Regions from separate parts of the Homo sapiens genome. Here region 1 is linked to region 2. Evidence: promoter capture Hi-C in human tissues and cell types (Jung and others, 2019). All regions are on one chromosome and are shown on one strand. The core of a region is centred on a gene start or on the middle of the fragment in contact, and the rest is flanking DNA. Distances in the headings are between cores, read along the strand shown. Region 1 has its middle 27 kb from the start of CSRNP3. Region 2 holds the start of GALNT3 (polypeptide N-acetylgalactosaminyltransferase 3).

Evidence for each region. The method cuts DNA at HindIII sites, captures the fragments that hold promoters and counts their contacts. A contact is called where the count stands out against the background at its distance.
Region 1: a fragment that was not itself captured here is called in contact with the fragment with the promoter of GALNT3 in region 2 in 2 of the 25 tissues and cell types used here (H1 embryonic stem cells and dorsolateral prefrontal cortex).

Annotation. Positions count from the first base shown.
Region 1 is chr2:165,440,257-165,445,521 of GRCh38, forward strand. No RefSeq gene overlaps it. Among named protein-coding and RNA genes, the nearest start is that of CSRNP3, 27 kb to the right of the region's middle. The HindIII fragment of the contact is 4,781 bases long and covers 933-5,265 here.
Region 2 is chr2:165,792,334-165,798,455 of GRCh38, forward strand. GALNT3 (polypeptide N-acetylgalactosaminyltransferase 3) reads right to left here and starts at 1,914. Exons shown (of 11, transcript NM_004482.4): 1 at 1,682-1,914. It overlaps LOC124906086, which reads left to right and starts at 1,253. Exons shown (of 6, transcript XM_047446887.1): 1 at 1,253-1,459; 2 at 1,586-2,004; 3 at 2,467-2,746. The coding sequence starts at 1,253. RefSeq lists enhancers at 664-1,570, 1,571-2,476 and silencers at 1,547-1,636, 1,707-1,856. The HindIII fragment of the contact is 8,213 bases long and covers 1-6,122 here.

The sequences.
Region 1 (5,265 bases), core at 2,073-4,572, 350 kb before region 2:
ATAATAAATAATTTCATGTTTAAGAACTAAATTCCTCAATAGATGCAATACTGGCAATGAAAAAAGTCACCTTTTCTCTGTGTGTTTTCCTTTATGTTGTGTGCTGCAGATGTTGGCAAGAATAGCAACATTTTACATGTTTGCAGTAAGAGAGTCTGAGATCAAAACTGAGGAAATCTTTTAAGGTTAAATTCTCTCAAATACTTCCTTCCAAAGACCTTGTGCCAGCTTGTGATTTCCAGGCAGATGTTTTCCATTATACTGCTACTGGGTCATGACAGAATCTCCACAGTTTGCAGTTGCCATGACAACCTCATTTTTTTGTGTCTGCAGAGAATAATACACAGCTCAGAGGTATACGTTTTCTCTTAGTAATGGAAATGTTGATCCATCAAAGGAATTGATTAGGTTGACAACTGTACATTTGATAGATCAGCAGTAAATGTGAAGGATTACATTTATTATCCATGTTTTATCTGGTGGACAGTGTCTTATTTCCACTTAGTTTTCTGGACAAATAAAAATCCTGTGGCAAGCATATCAGTCTTTAAAACTATAAAAAGCTAGGAAAAATGTTTTATTATTAGTATAAGTTGTATTTTTCAAGTACGAGAAAAAGATTCTAGGGAAAAATAGCCATAAATTTTAGTGATTTGTATTTACTGTTTGACATTCATTTTGAGCCTGTTTTCCTCTTGGTCACTTACAAATGAAAGCAAGTATTAATTTGCAAGGCAATAATAATTTAATAACATTGTAGACTTGCAAACAGAATACATGGCATCTAATTGTAATTTCATTTGGGAAGTTATTGAGGCTATCATTAGGTTTTACATATACAAATATACTATAGCAAAACATTTTCAGAATTAAGGTCCTTTGAAAAATAAACCAATTATCATTTTTAAATTAAACCAGGAGAATTTTTTTTCCCTTGCAAGTGTGTATTTAGACATGATAATTTTTCTGTCAGGTGAGGTGTGGAGGCTCACGCCTGTAATCCCAGCACTTTGAGAGTACAAGGCGGGAGGATTGTTTGAGCCCAGAAGTTTGAGACCAGTCTGGGAAACATGTGAGACCCCACCTTTACCAAAAGTTTAAAAAAAAAAGAATGGGGTATGGTGGCACGCACCTGTTGTCCTAGCTACTTGGAAGGCTTAGGCAGGAGGATTGCTTGAGCTCAGGAGTTTGAGGCTACAGTGAACTATGATCCCACCACTGTACTCCAGCTTGGATGACAGAGCAAGACCCTGTCTCTAAAAAAGGTGGGAAGATCACCTGAGGCCAGGAGTTCGAGACCAGCTTGGGCAACATAATGAGACCACATCTCTATTTAAAAAGTAAATTTTAAAAATAAAAAAATATAAAATTTGGTAACTCTTTCTGCTTTGGTATTATTTTCGATTCCACATCGTCTGGTAAATACTGTGGTGGTGTTTGTATGTTTTCTCACCTTCCACCCCTCTGAAATTATGGATCAAAACAAATTATGGATCAAAAACAAAAACAAAAAAATTCTTTCAAGTATTATTCATAACACACTGAAATCATATTCTGGTTGGTTTATGATCTATGGGAGAATAAACATCTTTCAAACAGAGGTATTTTAAATTATGGTAACTACTTTCAGTGCTAGGCCCCATGAAGCCTGGGAGAAAGCACAATGTTCATCCAGTAAGCTATGAAACCTCGTTTCATTTCTTTTACACAAACAGTGAGTAGGCAGGGGCTCTATTTTCTACTTATCTTCACAATACTTAATTTTTTATCTTAGAATAATTTTGATTAATTATAATCATATACATGCATTTCAATAACAGGCTTTTTTTTTCATTTTAGTCAATATTTTTATTTTTTGAATTGTGCTATTTGGCATAATGGTGAAATTTTGAATTTCTTTAAAACTGTTTGGAAAATAATTTTTTTTCCATTATTTCATTGGCAAGCTTCTCTGAATTACAGACCAAATAATTATTGTATTTGATAATTTTCTTTTTGCCTCCTTTTGCTTTGCATTAGTGGTATGTGTACTTGTATTATTCTCCCATCATAGATTTTGTGCCTCCAGAAGCCCAATATTATTTTCTTGGTTTGTCTTTGTATCCCTTCTAGTACCTTGTAAGTGTGTATTAATGCTTGTTATAATCAATTGAATAAAACCACTTTATCCCCTGTAAATTCAAACTATAGTACCACAATTTGTAAGCCTAATGCTTAAACCATAGCTTGCAGGTTTAAGCAATACATATTATATATATACACACACATAAATATGATATACATATATATTATCCTTAGGATTTGAATTGAATGGATGCTAACCTGGTACTATTTTATACATTTTTGAATTTTCAAATATTCTAAAATTAATATGGATGAGTTTTTATAATTTGAAAGAGAACAAATCTAAATTTTAAAAATAACTGGGCGTGGTGGCTCATGCCTGTAACCCCAGCACTTTGGGAGGCTGAGGTGGGAAGATCACTTGAGCTCAGGAGTTTGAGACCAGCCTGGGCAACATAGTGAGACCACATCTCTCTTAAAAAATAAGTAAATAAATTTAAAAAATAACAAAAATAAAATTTAGTAGCTATTTTTCTGCTTTGGTGTTATTTTCAATTCCACATCATCTGGTAAATATGATGGTAGTGTTTGTATGTTTTCTCACCCTCCACCCCCTCTGAAATTATGGATCAAATTTTGAAAGGATTAAATCTGCTTATTCAAGAGAGATTTTACATCCATACCCTGTCAGAGAGTCAGAGAGGAAGTCTAGAATTCCCCTCTTTCTTTATTCTGTTCTATCCCTTTACATCCTCCTCCGCTTATCTCAGCAGTACGTGTTAGGCTTTTAGGAAAAAGAGAACCATAGGATTTCAGAATTGGAAGAGATAGAAGAAGTTATTAGATTATAGATTTCTAGCACAATTTCTAGTGCTCCTGGGGCCACGCAACACTACAATTCATGGACTTGCTGTGGCTTCTGATGTCTTAGAGAGCACAATCCCTGTCTAAAGAGGATGAGCAGTAAAGACTCAGCTCCAGCTAATTGTTGCCAAGGGAGAATGTAGGCCAGATCTACCAATGTTTAAAAGAGAATCCAGAAATGGGCTTTTATATAAACATTCTAATTTTTAAATGTTGGCCACAGATGCATACAAAAAAGCACTGCCGGTCAAATAAAACATATCTGCAGGACAAAATTAGCCAATGAGATAACAGTTTCCCAAGAATGGTTAGACCAAACTCTTATTTCACAGATGAAGGAACTAAAGTTCAAACTGACATAAAAGCTTGCCTAAAATCATCCTGGATATCAAACAAACATTTCAGTGCTCTTCAATCTTAGATGTTTGTGATTTGATGTAGCTATTTCCTTAACAAGTCAGGAGGGAAGTTTGAAAGCACATCCTGTGTGAGGATGAAGTGTCTGGGAGTTGTTTCACAGCTTTGATCATGTAATGAAAGCATTTGTGTTTATGGGTCAGGAAGTGACAAGAAGGTTTTGTTTGAGTAGGTGGTAAGGTCTGACACCTGAGAGGCAGGCAGTGTAATAATATCTAATTGCAATACAATATTCAGCTTTCAGGTAGGGTTTTGCTAATGGAAGAGAATCGGTATATTCTGTATTTCTTCTACCAGATTATTATCTGATGAATGCCTTAGAGACTACCCGTAATTCAGAGAGAGAGAGAAAATTACATAAGCAAATTGCAAGAATAATCTCTTTCCTTGTGCTTATATTATTACATTGCATTTTGCTTTCTGCATTTAAAGCACCCTTTTTCTAAAGACTCAAGAAACTTTTAATAGACCTTTGTTAGTATAAACCAGATCATTCTTATGAGAAGTAAACTTCCTATAGGCATACTTCATTTTATTGTGCTTCATTTCTATTGCATTTTTTAACAAATTGAAGGTTTGTGGTAACAAATAGCATATGCTCACTTTGGGTCTCTGTGTCACATTTTGGTGTTTCTGGCAATATTTAGGCTCTTTCATTATTACTATATCGGTTATGGTGATCTGTGGCCGTTGATCTATGAAGTTACTATTGTAATTGTTTTGGACACCACAAACCATGCCCATGGAAGACAGCAAAGTGAATCCAGAAAGGTGTGTGTTTTTACTGCCCCACTGACTGGCCCTTCTCCCATCTCTCTTCCTCTCTTCAGCCTCCCTGTTCTCTGAGACACAATAATGTTGAAATGAGGCCACAGTGGCTTATAAGTGTTCAAGTGAAAGGAAGAGTTGCATGTCTCTTACTCTAAATCAAAAGCTAGAAAAGATGAAGCTTAGTGAAGATGGCAGTGTGGAAAGCCAAGATAGGCCAAAAGCTAGGCCTGTTGTGCCAAGCAGTTAGCCAAGTTGTGAATGCAAAGGAAAAGTTCCTGAAGGTAATTAAAAGTACTACTCCAGCGAGCACATGAATAATAACGAAGCGAATAAATAAATACAAAGCGAAACAGCTTTATTGCTGATACGGAGGAAGTTGTAGTTGTCTAGATAGAAGATAAAACAGCCACAACATTCCCTTAAGCCAAAGCCTAAACTGGAACAAGGCCCTAAGTCTCTTCAATTCTGTGAAGGCTGAGAGAGGCGAGGAAGCTGCAGAAGAAAAGTTGGAAGCTAGCAGAAGTGGGTTCATGAGGTTTAAGGAAAGAAGCTGTCTCTATACCATAGAAATGCAAGGGGAAGCAGCAAGTGTTGATGGAGGAGCTTCAGCAAGTTATCCAGAAGATCTAGCTAAGACCATTGATGAAGGTGGCTACACTAAACAACAGATTTTCAATGTAGATGAAACAGCCTTCTGTTGGAAGAAGATGCCATCTAGGACTTTCACAGCCAGAGAGAAGTCAATGCCTGGCTTCAAATCTTCAAAGGACAGGTTGACTCTCTTACTAGGAGTTAGTATAGCTGGTGACTTTAAGATGAAATTAGTACTCATTTGTCATTCCCCAAACCTAGGGCCCTTAATAATTATACTAAATTTACTCTACCCAGACTCTATAATTGGGACAACAAAGCCTGAATGACAACACATCTGTTTACACATGTTTTACTGAATATTTTAGGCTCATATTGAGACCTACTGCTCAGAAAAAAAAGATCTCTTTCAAATATTACTGCTTATTATCAATGCACATAGTCACTCAAGAGCTCTGATGGAGATGAACAAGATTAATGTTGTTTCATGCCTGCTAACACAACATACATTCTGCAGCTCATGACTCAAGAAGTAATTTTGACATTCAAGTGTTACTC
Region 2 (6,122 bases), core at 664-3,163:
ATCTGCCTAGTAAGTAATGAAGACTAATATTCAAAATTCAGGGAACAACTCCTATATCTCATATTTAAACAGTATTTAGCACATTTGTTTCTCTGTATGGAGACAAGATTAAGAGGTCAGGTGAGATCCTTTTAAGAAATGTAGAAAAGTGGTGATTGAATTAATAATTACATCATGTTATGCTGTGGTTGGCTTTTAGATTTCCATCTAATCTTAAAAAGAAGAAGAAAAATAACCCCACTACATGTTGCATCAGGCATTTTAAGTAAAACGTGCAATTTAAAAAATATTTTTAAAATGTGTGGAGATAGAACAAAACAATGGAATTGTTATTATTATCAGAAACTTCTACGTAAAAATGTTGGTTAAAGCAATATATAAAGATTGATTCTCGGTACAAATTGCTTGGAAAGTTTAACATGTGCACTAGATTTCAGATATTAAAAGTTAAATTAAAAAAAAGAATCTAATGGCAGCGTGTGACTTTAACCTCATGGATTTTAGCCACAAACGCAAAGAAAAATATATACAATAAAAGAAGCAACAGATTTTCCCACAAGCAGAGATTTTCTAATTAAAATGCTGTCACTTTAATATTTTTTAGCTATAGAATTTGACTGTAAATGTCTTCATTATGTAGTGTAACTTCTATAGCAAGTTATGTTAACGTTTTCAAGAATCGGAAATATTGGTAACTCGATGGGGTTCTTAAAACAGAAATAGTTTCTTTGATGAGTTGGAAAGAGAAGGAAATAAAAGTCTAAGGTAAGCGCCAGTTTCACCCTCAATTCTTAGGCTTCAGAAAAGCCTAATTAGGCAGGGAAAGGAATCTGGGCCTGGCACACCCAAGCTTAGACGTGGCAGGATCCTGAAACAATGTTTTTTTGAACCTTTGAGTCATATGCCACAGGCAAACCATAGCCGCGATATGCAGGTCCTTAAGTCAACAGGTCCTCTAACGAGATGGTGAGTGGTTGGTGCGTGGCAGTTGGATTTCTTCCCGCCACGGAAGAAAAGAACTCTTCTCCATTGATCAGGAAAGTGGGCCCAACTCTGGCCTGGAGAGCGCACCCGGAAAAGTGCAGAGTCGAAACAGAGAGAGAGGGGTGTCCGCGTCCCGGCCACAGAGCCCTTTCCAAACCACTCGGAAACCATTTAAATGGCTCGGCGGCCGCGGTTTGCAGCCTAGAACTGTTTGGGGTCCCCGGCTAGGAAAGTTGCCTGGCAAAGCCATGTCTTTCGCTGTCGCGGGATGTCCTCTCGGGCAGAGAGGCTGGAGGAGACAGGCAACCTGCTAGCCGGAGTGGAAGCGCGCCCGCCTCCCGCCGGGCCCTCCCTCTCAGGGTCCCCACGCTGCGACCCTCCCAAGGGCAAGTCCGGGGCCACCAGGTCTTTGGTCTCCGTCCAGCTCCTCAGGGGCCGCCCCATAGGGACTGGCGGGGGCACCGTGGGCGAGAGGGTGTGACCGGGCTCCCCCCCGAGGCGCCACCTGCCCCTTGGCCCAGGGCGCCCCTTTCGGGATCTCTCCAGGGGCAACCGACACACTGCTCTCGAGACCGTCTCCAACCGGCCACCTGGACCGTAGCCCTGTCCCCAACACGTGAACCCCTGCGGCCGTCCTCCCGCCTGCTCTAACGCAGCCCAGGGGTACCGCGTCTCCCTCCGCCTGCCGCCGGCTTACCTGGCGGGTGGGCAGGGCAGGGTGGCGGGAAGCGGCGGCCGGGCAGGCGCTGGACGTGGGCTAGGCGCCAGGTGCAGGTGGCGGCGGCTGCGACTCCGGTTGCTGTCGCCACAGTTGCGGCTCAGTAGAGCTCCTCCTCCGCCGCCGCCTCCTGCCTTCCCGCTGGGCCTCCCGCGTTGCCTGGAGAGGCAGAACCGAGGCTCGGCTTCCACTTGGAGTCTCCCAGGTGAGCTCCAGCCTGCGACGTCGGCAGGGGCGAGGCCCCACTTCCGCGCCTGCGCGCCAGCCTCCCGCCCCGCCCCAGCCCTACCTGAGCGCTCCAGGTGAGAACCTTGGATCGCGCGCGCAGGGTGGGGGCGCCGTCCGGGCCAAGCCTGGCTGTCGCGCGGCTTCTCTCTGAGTGGTCGGCGAGGCTGCTGCTCCGCGCAAGTTGTGGCTCCCGGCCCATCTACATTGGAGGAATCCTGCACTGACCTGGTGGCAGTGATCACCTTGTAGCCAGAACACAGTCTGCTGGGTCCTTGGGGAACCAGAAGTTCTAGATTTCCCCCACACGGTTCCTCCCTTCCTCCTCGGTTCGCCAAAATGAAGGGGTGCGCTGCCTCCGAGGACCACTTCGGGAGGGCAGCAACTGCTGGCTCATGTGGTTTCTTCGGGCAGGGTTCAGCAGCTTCTGTCACCAGTTAGGTTTCGTGAGCTTCCTTCCCGTGTAGTCTTGATTTCATCACTTGACTCACTTCAGCGCAGCTAGTGGTTTCCGTTTCTGTACGCGGGCGCTCTGGTAGGGGCGCCTCACGTCCAAAGGAGGAGTCTTCTTCCAAAGAAGAGCCTTTGGTATTTGGCAGAGCCTCGCCAATTTGGGGCGCACCTCCCCTTCCTGGGATGCTCTCAGAAGGCAAACCAATTCCCAGAAGAGAGGGAAAAACAGCCACAACAGAGAGAACCTTTGCTGTCCCTGTTTGGAAAGAGATTGGGATTTCCTGGAGAGGGCTTGCTTCTACTGCAGGTTTGTTTAAAAGCTCAACATCTATTCTGGAAGAGAACAACGCAGACTCCAGGAAGATGGTGGGTTTTGCTGTTTTTAAGACAAAAAAAAATTGTTAAACAGTATTTGTTCCATTTATGACACAACTTTCTGTTTCAGCCTTCCTTCTGCTGCTGCAACAAACATTGACACACCCAAAACCAGGACTTAAAATGGCCTTTATACCTTTCTATGAACTCATTTCTTTGGCCCTATCCCAAAGATATCTAGGGATATAAATAGAAAACTAGCTAAAAACTTTTTGGTGTCGTGTTTAATCACATGGTGGTAGGTTTTACTATGAAGTTTAGTTGTGGCCTTCCTCCTACATTTTGACATGCTCTTATGGTGCTTATTCACTGTTTTATTAGTGCTATGCGTGACCTAAAAATAAGGTTTAAAATACAGTTTAGTATAGTATCAACAAGTGTATCTTTAGTATTTGACTACTCTAAGACATTGGTTTTAGCATCCATAGTGCTATTTTATACTAGGACATCTATGAGTTAGGGTTTAAGACTTTAGTAAACTAGGTAGTTCTTTGCTTGTTTTACATGTCATGGTTATTTTGCGAGCACCAAGGAACCTCCATGTATTTGCAACATTTTAATATCAGTACCTACAAGCAATTGCCAAGCTCCCTTTCCCTCCAAAAACAAACAAACAAAAAAATAGTTCAGGAGATACTTGTGTGTATTGATATACTAACTTGGCAGTGTTTTTCCTTAGGTCCAGGTCCAGAACTGAAAATACTAACTACTGAAATTCTCTTCTCCTTCTCCTTCTTCTTCGTTGTGCCACTTTGTCGTTTACCCCTAACCAGAGGTTAATGTTAGTCTTTGGAAAATTTGTAAGGTATCCTAAATGTATAACCAAGAAACCTGTACCCTTTTGCACGCACCACCCATCTCTGAATGAAGAGCCAAAGATTGTCAGAGTTTTGATGTCCCACCAGGCGAAGAGCAACACTTTTCACTGACAATCAGGACAGAGCAGATGGATATAGAATAACAATCTGGAATCCAAGGACTGAGATGCATTGACAGCAAGACTAGTAACGTCAAATAACAACTGAAAAGAGAAGCTAGGGTAGACCTATTAAAAGAGAGAGCCAGCAAACAGGACCAAAATGCTGGATGAGGAGTCTAAAAAGAACAGAAGAAACAAAAAAGATCAGGAGTTACTAAAATTTGACTGTCAGTTTTACAATGGAGACAGACAATTTAAAGAAGGAAGCAGTTTTTCTGAGTGTGGCATTACTTGTGCACGTTGAGTGTCATATATATAGAGAGAGAGAAAGAGAGAGAGTGAGAGAGAGTGAGAGAGAGAGAGAGAGAGATATCTTGGGGATGAGACCTGTCTAAACACAAAATTCATTTATGTTTCATATACACCTTATACACATAGCCTTAAGGTAATTTTATAAAACATTGTAAATAATTTTATGCATGAAACAAAGTTTGTGTAAAGTACTTATGTGTGGAATTTTCAACTTGTGGTGTCATGTTGGTGCTCAAAAAGTTTTGAATTTTGGAACATTTCAGATTTTGGATCTGTGGATTAGGGATGCTCCACCTGTACTATTTTACACAACGTTGCTTGTACTATTTCAAAGCATTCTGAAAGCAAAGTCTTAATATTAATAAAAAATTTTCTATGTGACAATAAAATTAAAATGCTGCAGGCCCAAGAAAAAAATATTATCATATTGAAATATTTAATGCCCCAAATCTAATCAGATGCAGGTTTTTGAAAGTACCATCCTATTCAAAATTATGAAATAAAGAATTTGTTTCATAAAGAGAAATTAGCATTTCATCATAAATAAAATCCAGGAACCTTAGTGTAGACATGCTTCAGAAATAAGCTAATTTTAATAGTATATGTTTGACATATAATGACAGTTAAGATAGAAAACTGGGCAGATTTTACACAGGAAGGAAACAAACATTCTCTCTCTCTCTCTCTCACACACACACACGTACTTATTACACACACACACACACACACACACACACACACACGACTAGCCACAAAATGCTCATTTGCATGGATTTGAAACAATACTCACTCCTTAATACTTTCTGTTAACATTTAAATTAATGCCAAGACCAGCACCTGGCACTTAGTAGGTACTTAATAAATATGTGTTAAATGAATAAATTGACCCATCAAGTACCATAAAAAAAATGCCTAGTGTCTTGAGCAATTTACAGGTCTAAAGAATGGTTTTACCCAACAGTAATGACAAATAATCCAAGGCAGATAAGAACACTAGACTGGTAATCTGAATTGCAAAGTTCTAAGAACAATAGCTACCAGCTTTCACATACCTACATTTCAAAAGACACTACGCAAAACAACTTACACTCCTACAAATTACTTTACATCTGGCTTAAATATTCTCTTCCACAAAACAAAATAGTGGTACAAGATGATCTACAGGCTTCTTTACATTCTGATTCATATAAACTCTATGCCAAGAGAATTGGGCAAATAAATAAATAAATAAATGAAACCTTCTGGATATAGCAATAATAATTAATGGGACAGCAAAGATGAAGAAACTGAAATTATTTAGCTGAGATCGAAATTTTAATTCATAAAAAATAGTTGTAATATATAATGTAACAAGTAAATGTGTAAAGTTACTAAGCCTAACTTTAAACTATTTTAGTTTGTTAATTGTTTAATTGTTGGTTACACAACTTTGCTTTGAAACATACTCTAGAAACAGTTTTGCCTCATGAGGGAACTAGAGCTTTTAGTGAGGATCTCAAAGTCAGACTGAGAGATTTGGCTCAAAGACTGAACAGACTGGAATAATTTCTTCTCAAAGCAGTAAAAGTGTTGAAATGCTATTGATTCAAGCAGAGAATAGAGGTGGTATCACAGTGAAGAGCCACAAACACGTGGGTATTTTTTAAATAATGATCCAACATAATTCTACATTGTGTTTAAAATATAGCAAGTTAAAACAGGGAAAATATAAATAGGTTATTTTAGTATGAACTTTTTTGGACATTGTTTTATATGATTCTTCCCCCTGTAGAATCTCAGAACAATCATCTCAGATTTTCAAAGTGGTTCACATACTATGAGGGGTTGACTTAGATTACAACAAAACTATGTCTTGCTAATCTTGTATTCTTAGTACTTGGCACATAGTAGGCACTCAATAAATATTTGATGAAATGTATTGAATAGAGTGCATTGTTTCAAGCTTTTAAGCATTAGCATAAGAGCAAAAAGAAATGTCATGCTGAGTCAGAATAATATTCAATCTAACTGGCTCTAAATTCTGACAGTGGCACCAAAGAATATTTTGTGGAAAACTATGGTGATAGTCTTGCATGATGTTGACCTCAGTGATGTACTCGAGTATCCCTCACTCACTCTTTTCCTAAATTGATTTCT